Linked DNA regions of Homo sapiens: regions 2 and 3 are each linked to region 1. Evidence: promoter capture Hi-C in 16 types of primary human blood cells and fetal thymus (Javierre and others, 2016). All regions are on one chromosome and are shown on one strand. The core of a region is centred on a gene start or on the middle of the fragment in contact, and the rest is flanking DNA. Distances in the headings are between cores, read along the strand shown. Region 1 holds the start of EPS15 (epidermal growth factor receptor pathway substrate 15). Region 2 overlaps OSBPL9 (oxysterol binding protein like 9). Region 3 overlaps EPS15 (epidermal growth factor receptor pathway substrate 15).

Region 1 (3,882 bases), core at 626-3,125:
ACAGAGCTTGAAGCAATTCTCCAGAGATGAATGATGTAAATAGAAGCTAAAAACATGGTATTACCCAGGGAGAGAATAAAGTATGCACACAACTGAGAAGCAATTTTACGGAAGTCTTTAAGAGCACAAAATCTTCAAGGGAAAACTCCTGCCAGAATTGGCCAACAGAGCCAGAAAACAACAGCCTGCCAACAGGGATCTTGTTTAATGCAAGTCACTAACTAGACTCACAGAAAGTGAATACCTAAAAGTCAGTGCTGTAGTTGTTCAAATTTGAGTTTTGGGAGGACCCTTCCAAACATACATAACCAAGACTAAACCACCACATTCCATGTTAAAGGGTTCTCTGCTTGTCAGAACAGGACAACCACCACCACCATCAAAAAAACTGGGAAATAGACTTTCCTTATGACACTTAGAATTCCTGCAAACACGGGTTAGTTATTTTACATGAAGCATGTACGTGACTCCTGGTTTCTGAGAAAACATTTTTTTCTCTCTATCCTACAGTGCTAGGCAAAGCACCCCAAAGCCTCTTGATTTTAAACACAGAAAACTCCACTGCCGAAATGTTTGCCCTATCCCAGCGCTAAAGCCTTAGAAGCACCGACGAATCTAGGCCAAGGAGTACAAGATGGCAGTGAGATACCACAATGCAGGCAAGGAAGACGGGATGGGCCCCAATCGGGAAGCACGCGCCACCAGCTCTGGAGAGAACCGTCTGAGGAGACGCGGGGGAGAGTTTGGGTCACAGGAGCAGGAAGGAACTGGCAGGTGTCTGTCACCTTATCATCCCGGACACCATGTTTACATTGTAATTGGCTTCTTTACAGAGAGGGAGGGACCAGGTTCCCAGTGTGAGTGATGTTTAGAGGTTTTCTGAGAAGCACAAGGACTGGACTTTGACAGGAAGCAACGAGGCAAGAGGGAAGCTCGAGAACAGGTTTTGCTGAGGATTCCCCCCAAGAAAAGTGCTCCCCGGGAGGCCGTTCCTGGCACCAAGACTGGCGGAGCCACCACACCCGTTAAAGGGATCCACCTGGACAGCGATCAGGCGTGAGCCCCCCGAGGGGAAGTTGAAGTGGAAGCAGACGTGGGTGGCAAAAGGCTGCATTGGGGGTCTGACCCAGAAGGAAACCTGATCAGGAGGGGGGAGAGGCTGAACGGAGGAAGGGGCCGGCAGAGTGGGTAGTTGAGTAGGATGAGACTTCTTTGGAGGCGAGGCTAACTACATTAAACTCTGGGAAGGGAGGGCTTCCGTCGGACCCTGGGAGAAAGGCAGGTCTGGAGAGGAAAGACTGGCTTGGGGGGCCTGCGCGTCCGGCTCTGGAAGGCAACTCCTACTGGGGGCGGCGCGCAGCCGGCCTGGCGGGCGAGCCTCGTGCGGCCCGGGGGTGCGGCCGGCCCGCGCGAGCTCAACAGGAGCTCACCTGGGATGCGTGCGGCCCTGTGGGAGGAAACTTCCTGGGTAGGTGAAAGCTGCCCCGCGGGAGCCGGCCCGGCACCGGCAGAGCGCGGCCGGGTCACAGTCCACTCGGCAGCGGCGCGGAGGGCGGCGAGGGCCGCGCGGGGCGGGGCAGGAGGCGCCCGACGACCCTGGGCGAGGTCGCGGCGGCCGCAGGGGGGCTCCGGCTCCGGAGGGCGCCCTCCCGCAGTCGCACCCGCTTTCCCTCACACACACCGGCCGCCCGGCCCACAAGCCAAGAAGCTGCCTGCTTGGCCCACAAGCCAAGAAGTCGGCGAAGCTGAGGGCGGTGGGGGAGGGGGCACCGGCCGGCCAAGCCCGGCGGACGGGCGTGTGGCGTTACCTGTGTCAGAGAGAGCTGGGCCGCCGCAGCCATGGTGTTTCCATCATGCAAGGGAGGGGAAGGAAGACGGGCTGACTGGGGCTCGGGGCGGGGAGGAGGCGGAGGGAGCGGCCGCAGGCGAGGCCGGGGCGGGCGGGCGGGCGTCTCCCCTAACTTCCACAACTTCCCTCCCCACGCCCGCCCCGCCCCGCCTGGCCCCGCCCGCCTGCCCGCCCGCCGGAGCCGGCCGCGGCGCCGCCCAAACCCTGGCGCCGGAGTCTCGGCCACCGGACCAGAGCCTGCCCCCGGGGCCGCCTTGGAAAACCCGGCGCGGACATAAAATTAAAGCGGACGGGCTGCGGAGGCGACTGCAGATTGACCTGTGAACTTCAGACAGGCCACCTACCTACGCTGAGCTCCTGCTTCTGAAAAATGGGGGAAATTGTAACTAGAGGCCCAGTTACTTACAAAGACTAAATGAGATAATGATAGAAAATAATAATGGCACTTTATATATGCCAGGCTCTGTACTAGACTCTTATTTTTTGAATTGTATGAATGAAGGAACTGAAACACAAATAAGTGTCTTACTAAGGTCATACAGCTAATTATATAGCTGAATTAGAATCCAAGTCTAACTGTAAATATTTAACCATCTGCTAGTATATTGGAAAAGAAGACATTAAGTCATTCCCTCCCACAGCCAAAATCCATTTGGAAAGGGGAAGCAAAAATGTATTTGCCTGGTGCCTGTCACATTTAGATTGTTTAACAAGGGAACGCTGGTGCCTGTAGCACTCCTAGCTTCTCCCATCATCCACTTAGCAAACTCCTCCTTCTTTCTCAGGACATAATTCAAGTTTCACCTCCTTTGCAAAGTATCTTTTTCTCTTCCTTATGTCAGAGTTACACACTCTCCTTTATAACCTTTCTTCTCTACCTTGTGAAGTCATCACCCTAATGACAGTTTACACCTATCTATCCCTCTAGATTAAGAGCTCCTCAATGGCAAGAACTGTTTTCAATATATTTCTATATCGTCAGACCCTAGCATTACAGTGCATGCTCAGTAAAGGCCTTCGTTCCTGCCTATATTAAACATAACACATCCTACACCTTCTGATGCTGCCAACCTTCAGTTGGAATACCCAGTTACTTGAAATTCATCTTCAAAGTCTCAGAGTATATACCACCTACTTCAAGAAGCCTTCTAGGAACTCCACACCCCACCTCTAAGTTGTTCTGATGTGACCGTTTTTATACTCTGCCTTATCTGTAAGCGTTAGTTGAGGGTTTGTCTCCACCTCACTGCACTGTAAAATCCTTGAGGACAAGGGGCTGACTCACTGCTTTATCTCCCTCATAGTTTAGCCTACCACAGAGGCCTCAATAAATGTATTTGCCCGAATTGGTCTTAATTTCTTAGTCACGATGGCTTCCCATTACAACAAACCACAACTCTATCAGGCCTACACCCATTACCATTATCATAGCAGTCCCCGTGGTAGGAGGGACAACTGAACAAGACCCAGGATGGAGTTAGCCCCACCTAAGTTTTTAGACTATTGCCTCCACAAGCAAACCATTCCAGAAATTTCCCAAGGAACTCCTAATTCTACTCAGACTCCTTCTGGCAAAGGCCAGCTAACAAGAGCAAGCCATATAGGTCTGGTGAGTAACCACTTATTCAAGAGCATCTTCCTTGGCTTCTTTTTTGCTGCTAATCTCTTTAACTGAAGAGAGAATAAGAGATACTGTTTTACATTACTTCACTTTGGTACACTTATCAGCCATAACCACAACCGGTGTTTCTACCGGTGTTTTCTACTTTATATTAGCACATTTGAGCTTCACAACTCTAAAAGGAAGTAATCGTCATACTCACTTTACAAATGAGGTAATGCAGGGTCACAGAGGCTAAGTGATTTGCCCAGGGTTATACAACTGATAGACAAAGCAGCATAGTATAGTGAAATAAATAGGACTCAGACATTAGGAATATCCAGGTTCCATTCCTGGCTCTCCCATTCACTAGTTGTATGCCCTTAGGGTTGTTGTGAGGATGAATGAGATGACATATACAAAAGTGCCTAAA
Region 2 (3,676 bases), core at 822-3,321, 130 kb after region 1:
TGGCCTTGAACTCCTGGCCTCACTCAAGTGATCTGCCCACCTCAGTCTCCCAAAGTGTTGGGATTACAAGCGTGAGCCACTGTTCCTGGCCTTCAGTCTTATCTGTAAGTTCCTGTCTGCACCCTGTGCTCTTGTCTGTACATCTACTCTCCTATGAATAGGAAAGTAAAGTTTTCTACATCTGTGCCTTCGCTGATGTTGTTTCCTTGTCTTGGAATGGCCTTTCCCCCACTACCTTCCCTTTCTTTTTATCAGATTTCTTTTTTCTTTCTTTCTTTTTTAAAGCCCCAGGTTGAAACTTGAAACCTGATCATTTCAGTTTTGCTTCCTTCCCTGATCTTTTTCCTTGACTGGGAGGAGCCTTCTGGAGTCCACAGCACTTATTTTTGCTCTATTACGATTGTTTACATGTTAGTCTTTTTTTTTTTTTTTTTTTTTTACATTTTGCAAGAATCTAAGCCAGTTGTTTTGTAGAATGTCACACATTCTGGATTTGCGTGATTATTTCCTGGTTGTATTTGTTTTAATTATTTTCAGTTATCTCTCTTAGTTTTTTCTTTTTTGTTGTTGTTGAAAAAAGGGTTTTGCTCTGTCACCCAGGCTAGAGTGCAGGGGTGTGGTCATGGCTCACTGCAGCCTTGACCTCCTTGGCTCAAGCAGTCCTCCCACCTCTCAGCCTCCTGAGAGCTGGGACTATAGGTGTGTACCACCACACCTAGCTAATATTTTGTATTTTTTGTAGAGATAGAGTTTCGCCATGTTGCCCAGGCCGACCTCAAACTCCTGGGCCCAAGTGACCCTCTTGCCTTGGACTCCCAAAGTGCTGGATTAGGAAATTAGGAAACGACTAGGATTATAATTGGCCCTCTTAATGTTGTTTAATTTGTAACCCTAATAGTTGTATTACCACTGGGACCTGTCTTGCCTTTTTTCTGTTTACTGTAATTTTATTTAAAAAATTGTGTTATAGTAGAAGAGGATCAAGGATGAATATATTCTTACCTTGTTTGGGTTAATTTTGCATTCTAACCTCATCAGGGATTTTCAAATCTAATTATTATTTTTGTGTATTTCCTTTACACTTGAAGGGAAGATAAGTATAGGGTACAGTAAAAGGGCGACTAAATGCTTAAGGAATGTTTTCATCAACTGTTTTCTTTCACTGTGTTATTAGTAAAGAACTCTTTTCAACTCTGCTTGGTATTGAGAAATTTTTTTCCTAAAATATATGATTCCTGATATTTATAGTTAGAACAAAAAGAATACTCTGTTTAGTATCTCGGTAATCACTTCTGAACATGAATTCTTACGGCTCAAGACTTTGGATGTAGGGCATCTATAGTTTCATGTGGGATAATCATCTTTAAAACATAATCATTCAATATTGGCTTGTTTTGCTGCTTTCTCACACAGGTGGAGTACAGGAAAATACCAGTTGTTCAAGTATTAAGTATTTGTTCAACTTCCATTATTTGAGATGTTACTTTGTTGTATTGCACATGACTAATTTACTCTTAGGAATATTTACTGAATGTAAACATAGCACTTTTGCATAACATAGGCTTTGCTTGGCTCAGTTTAGTAAGAGACACAGAAAGGCTAAGTTACATTTCATCAGTAAATGTTTTTTGAGCACCTGATGTGTACCAGACACTGTTCTGAGGCATAAGTCAGATACAATTCCTACCCCCTAAGGTATGTGTAGTCTTGTGGGTGAAGTAAACCAGCAATTATAACACAGGGTGATGCATGCCACAACAGGGGAACACACAGAAGACTCTGGGAGCCCAGGGTGGAAATCTAAATCAGACAGAGCTAAGGTGCTTGGAATGACAACGAGGCAGAACATTTGGGTCAAGAAAATTCCAAACTGAGGGACATTGGATGAGAAGTCACAGAAGCAAAAAATGTTACCCATTTGGGGAATTGCAGAGGTAAAGCTAAAGCAATACTTCTTGAGGTATGGTCTTCTGTTTGCCTTTGTCATAATTATCTGGGGGCAGCTGGGTGCGGTGACTCACGCCTGTAATCACAGCACTTTGGGAGGCCGAGGTGGGTGGATCACCTGAGGTCAGGAGTTCGAGACCAGCCTGGCCAACATGGTGAAACCCCGTCTCTATCAAAAACACAAAAATTAGCCGAGCATGGTGGCGGGTGCCTGTAATCCCAGCTACTCTGGAGGCTGAGGCAGGAGAATCGCTTGAACCCAGGAGGCGGAGGTTGCAGTGAGCCAAGATTGAGACATTGCACTCCAGCCTGGGCGACAAAGCGGGACTCCATCTCAAAACAAAACAAAAAAAAATAATTATCTGGGAGTGATTCTTAAACCTCCAGGTGATTCTTAGCCTTCTAGGTGGTTCTCTGACTCTCTAAAGTATGAGAAACATTCGTACTTAAGGGAATGAAGAAGGAATGAAAATAATGATGTAATATATGTTACATTAAAGGTATGTGTAAAGTTCTATGATTAGGTTAATTTATATAGACTGTATGACATTTTCATTTAAAATCTGTTTATTTTCCTATCCATAAGTAATTTCTTTTTGGAAGAGAAATTGGCAGAAGGGATGGGTATTACTGTAAATCTTGTCCTTTTATCCCCAGATGATTCTAAAAACAATTTACCAGTCTGTTAATGTTTTATTCATTGAATGCTTTGTTTTTCTTTTAGTCCAAGGACAAAATGATGAGAGGCTCTCGCAGAGGATGTGTTAGACTCAGAGTGAGTATTTATTCATTTTTATGAAAATCAATTTTGACAGAAGAAAATTGTATTCTGATAGAATTATGGAAGTCTAAATTTAGTTTAGCTTCCTTACATAATTGTTGGGGCAGGTATCTAAGTCTCAGAGAGAAAATGTGATTTCTCCAAGTAACTGTTAGTCAGTATCAGAACCAGGACTAGAACTCAGTTATTTTGGCCCATGATTCAATGTTGTATTTATGACTTAATGCATGTTCTGATTTTCTTAAACCTCTACTTTACAGACAAGAGACAAGGGCTGGAAATTAAGTGAGTTATGGTGTTGGTGGTATATCAACAGTAGAAAAAATGGAAAAATCCCAACTGTTAGCTGCCGCTGCTTTGTTTTTCCTGTTCAGCACTATTTAATCATGGTATATATAGCAGTGCTGTCCAGTAGAAATACAATGTTAGCCACATCTATAATTTAAGATTTTCTAGTAAGCCACATTTCAAAAGTAAAAAGAAACAGGCAAAATTAATATTTTATCTAGGTCAGTATATCTGAAATATTGTTATTTTAACATGTGATTAATAAAAAAAAATTAAGATATTTTACAATCTTTCTTTCCATACTAACTATTCAAAATCCAGTGTGTTTTTTACACAAAGGGTACATCTCAATTAGGACTAGCTGTACTTCAGAGAAGGGGATCAATAGCCACATGTGACTAGTGGCTGCCTTATGGTGCAGACCTATAGCTTCATGCTGCTTTCAGTTTCCACCATTGTTCAAATAGGTAAAGGCAAGAAAGAATGCATGGCTAGGGATGCAGTTTCTAGTATCCCATTGTATATGAAGAAAAGTGGCCTCTATCATAACTAGGTTAATCAGCTTCTAGGAACCTTTTCTTCAGGACCCTGTTGACTTCTTTCTTCCACCTTTTTTTCTGCATCCTTACTTTTGAAGATGTGAATATATTTGGTAAACAT
Region 3 (3,873 bases), core at 610-3,109, 160 kb before region 1:
GAAAGGATGAAATAAAATACACTGTCAGGCTTTTGAAATGGTAGTTTTTTTCCCTAGGGAATTAAGCAAAACTTTGAAACGTGTAATGCTTAACCACATCTTTCACAATGAAAAAAGAAGATGTTCTTATTATAAGCTGTTTTTTATTATACTATATTGAGATTTTGGAGCAAAATGCCTCAGCTGTTGTTCAAGACTCCTTCCAACCAGATTTGTTTTTTTTTGTTTTTTTTTTTTTTTTTGAGGCGGAGTCTCGCTCTGTAACTCAGCTTGAGGACAGTGGCACTATATCAGCTCCCGCAACCTCTGCCTCTGGGGCTTAAGTGATCCTCCCACCTCAGCCTCCCTAGCTGGGATTACAGGCATGCGCCACCATGCCTGGCTAATTTTTGTATTTTTAGTAGAGACGGGGTTTCACCATGTTGGCCAGGCTGGTCTCACACTCCTGACCTCAAGTGATCCGCCCGCTTCGGCCTTCCAAAGTGCTGGGATTACAGGTGTGAGCCACCCCGTCTGGCCCCAACAAGAGTTTGACTTGCTAAAACCATACTTAAGATATTAAATGCCACAAACTACCAGAGGGTTATTTTACACTAAGAGAATTATAACCTTCTAAAAAGGCCAATTTTTGATTCTCTGCTTGAAACAAATCAAATTCCATCTAATGAAAGTTAAGTCGGGCTGGATGCGGTGGCTCACCCCTGTAATCCCATCACTTTGGGAGGCCAAGGCATGCACATTGCAAGATCAAGGGATCGAGACCATCCCGGCCAACATGGTGAAACCCCGTCTCTACTAAAAACACAAAAATTGGCTAGGTGTGGTGGTGCGTGCCTGTAGTCCCAGCTACTTGGGAGGCTGAGGCAGGAGAATTGCTTGAACCTGGGAGGTGGAGGTTGCAGTGAGCTGAGATTACGCCACTGCACTCCAGCCTGGCGACAGAGCAAGACTCTGTCTTTAAAAAAAAAAAAAAAAAAAAGGAAAGTTAAGTAAGGCTGGGCGCGATGGCTCACACCTGTAATCCCAACACTTTGAGAGGCTGAGGCCGGTGGATCGCCTGAGATCAGGAGTACAAGACCAGCCTGACCAACATGGAGAAACCCCGTCTCTACTAAAAATACAAAATTAGCCAGGTGTGGTGGGTATGCCTGCAATCCCAGCTACTCGGGAGGCTGAGGCAGGAGAATTGCTTGAACCTGGGAGGTGAAGGTTGTGGTGAGCCAAGATCGCGCCTCCAGCCTGGGCAATAAGAGCAAAACTCATCTCAAAAAAAAAAAAAAATCAGTATAATTCTGGCACTCCATTTTTACAATATTCAAAATATTGATTCCTATTTTGCTCCTTCATAGTCAAGAGAAGCCACCAGAACTTAGAGTACAGATTCAAAAGCTGGGAGCTCAGTCGTCTTAGTTGCATGCAGATTCTTTTTTTTTTTGGAGACAGGGTCTGGCTCTGTCACCCAGGCTGAAGTACAGTGGCATGATCACAGCTCACTGCAACCTCCACCACCTCAGCCCCCCAAGTAGCTGGGACTACAGGTGCTTAAAGCACTTTGGCCTCTTAAAATGCTGAGATTACAGGCGTGAGCCACCACGCCCGGCCTGCATGCAGATTCTTGACTACCTCCCTTCTAACTAGAAACAGCTGCAGGAATAAAGCAATTGGTTGAATGGCCCAATGCTACACTGAGGAGGGAAATATTAGGCAGAGTTACCTGGCCACTAGATCTATTTCCAAAATCATCTCAAGGGCATAAGGTGATAAATAGAAGAAAATCTCTGTTTTATAGAACAGGCAATGATAACGAAGGTTATTTTGCCTGAAAAAACTGTGAAACTGAAAATTTGTTACCCGGTCTAAGAATTTTATTAAAAAATAACTTTTTTTACTGAATAATGATGGAATATATGACATTGCTTTATGTCTCTCTAGACTGATACCTCCATGGTTGGTTGCCCCATTTCTGTGATTTTATAGGCCCTGCTTATGCTGTTATCATGGCACCCTTCCACTGTTTCTAACGATCTTCCTATTTTAGACATCTCTGAAAGAACGCAGAGTAAACATGAGAAGTTAGTGAATTAGGGCCCTCCAAATAAAGATTGTTTAAATCCTGACAACCATTTATTTATTTATTTCATAAAACTGGCATTTACATTTTTAAAAAGCTACTGTGTAAGTTTAATAGTTTTACTTTCTATTCAAAGAATCTCTGGCTCTATCCTCTCATATAATATTTGCTGACTGGTCTCCAGAAATCATTAAAACTTTATACACAAACACACATACACAGCTGCAAATACACAAACTTATTACTGGCATTATTCATCTAGTGGGCAGAGAGCAATGACTCTGTAATTGTTCATTAAATCACCATCACCCATAACCATCCACAAAATAATAACTGTTAGGATTTTACTTACATTACCAAGACTAAGAGAAAGATTTACAAAACAACTTGTGTATATGACAAGAACTGGGACTACTAAAATCATCTGTGCGATGGAACAACCGTAGAACTGTCAAAACAGGATCAAACAGAGGTTTTGCTTGGGGGAAGAATGAAAGATCATTTTTAGTATCTTGGTAAATTTAGTTAAAATGATGCAAACTTGGCAGACTCCAAAATAATCTCTGAAAACTCTTTAAAGATTTCTCCCCCAAACAGCTCATTCACAGTACTTACAGCACTGAAGTTGGCAAAATTGCTTGGATCAGCCTCTTTATTGGTAGTGGTAGTAGCAGAAGTGAATGGATCACAAAATATTTCAGGATCTTTTTCTTTGGGGCTATCGTTGCCTGGGAAAGGCTGAAATGGATCATTCAGTTTAAAGGGATCAGGAGAATCCAATTTGTTGATGGATCTTTTCCCTGGATCAAAATCATTACAATTAATTCAACCAGTAAATACAGCAAATACAAGCACACAAGAACATGTACACAGATAGCATTAAAGTACTGTGGGTAGAGGATGATTGAGTACCTAAAACACATTCTGAATATTGTCTTAAATAGCTACACCAACAATTTGTCCTCAAATTCTTCACACATGATCTCTCAAATAGATTCCAGCTATGTGCAGCTAATGAAACAAATAGCAAAGTAAGGATGGGCCAGGAATCATATTTTTGTCCAAAGACTGAATCCCACCATCCCCTAGCCACACCCAAGCAGCATGTTCCCAAAAGGAGAGACGAATGGATTAAACAGAAGGAGAATAATAAAGAATAAAGACAGAAATGGCCTGCCTCTGCTGTTACAGCCCTCAGCCTGATAACAGTTATCCACTAGTGGCAGTAAGAGCAAATGACCTCTGAAAACTGGGAAAATTCTTCTGATTTTTCTCTAGTTCTACATACAATACCTAAGAGCATAAAATTTTTAAATTACCGTAGTAAAATGCTGCCAATTTTTTGTTATTTACTGTATTTCAAAATGAAGAAAAAATGTTTTGAAGCCCAGGGCCTAAATCTTTGCGGTTGCTGATCAAATAATCTCTGACCAAACAATAGTATTCTGTCCTATTAGTCACTCACTAATTCATTACCATTTTCAAACAAGTTCTCTAAGTCTTACTTAAACTTAGTACTTCTTGAAGAAAAGATAATAAAAATAGGGGTCAAAATATCTCCAAATATATTTTTTTCCTAAAATGCATAAGCTGGTAATAGCAATCATAACAACAGATTCCATCACTGTAGCTGCTTAGAAAAGATGCTCATATCTCAATGGATTCTTCCAATAATCCTGTGAAAGTAGGCAAAATTAGAATTACTGCCAACATTTAATAGCCAAGGGTCAGATATATGAAATTATACACTTAAGATCATAGTTAGTCAGGGAACATCCAGAAACAGAACCCAGATATTTAGA

What was found. Contacts are between HindIII fragments. The CHiCAGO score rates a contact against its expected background, and 5 or more counts as called.
Region 2: a fragment that was not itself captured here is called in contact with the fragment with the promoter of EPS15 in region 1 in 1 of 17 cell types (neutrophils); the score reaches 5.6 in neutrophils.
Region 3: a contact is called between a fragment that was not itself captured here and the fragment with the promoter of EPS15 in region 1, in 1 of 17 cell types (megakaryocytes). The highest score is 5.1, in megakaryocytes.

What each region holds. Positions count from the first base shown.
Region 1 is chr1:51,517,391-51,521,272 of GRCh38, forward strand. It overlaps EPS15 (epidermal growth factor receptor pathway substrate 15), which reads right to left and starts at 1,876. Exons shown (of 25, transcript NM_001981.3): 1 at 1,809-1,876. The coding sequence starts at 1,841. It overlaps EPS15-AS1 (EPS15 antisense RNA 1), which reads left to right and starts at 882. Exons shown (of 5, transcript NR_183651.1): 1 at 882-1,056. It also overlaps a transcript of OSBPL9 not described here. RefSeq lists an enhancer at 1,131-2,059 and silencers at 1,290-1,759, 1,910-2,099. The HindIII fragment of the contact is 8,390 bases long and covers 1-3,882 here.
Region 2 is chr1:51,649,320-51,652,995 of GRCh38, forward strand. OSBPL9 (oxysterol binding protein like 9) reads left to right here. Exons shown (of 24, transcript NM_024586.6): 2 at 2,672-2,722. Among named protein-coding and RNA genes, the nearest start is that of OSBPL9, 34 kb to the left of the region's middle. The HindIII fragment of the contact is 8,753 bases long and covers 1-3,676 here.
Region 3 is chr1:51,358,485-51,362,357 of GRCh38, forward strand. EPS15 (epidermal growth factor receptor pathway substrate 15) reads right to left here. Exons shown (of 25, transcript NM_001981.3): 24 at 2,687-2,871. Among named protein-coding and RNA genes, the nearest start is that of TTC39A, 30 kb to the left of the region's middle. The HindIII fragment of the contact is 7,902 bases long and covers 1-3,873 here.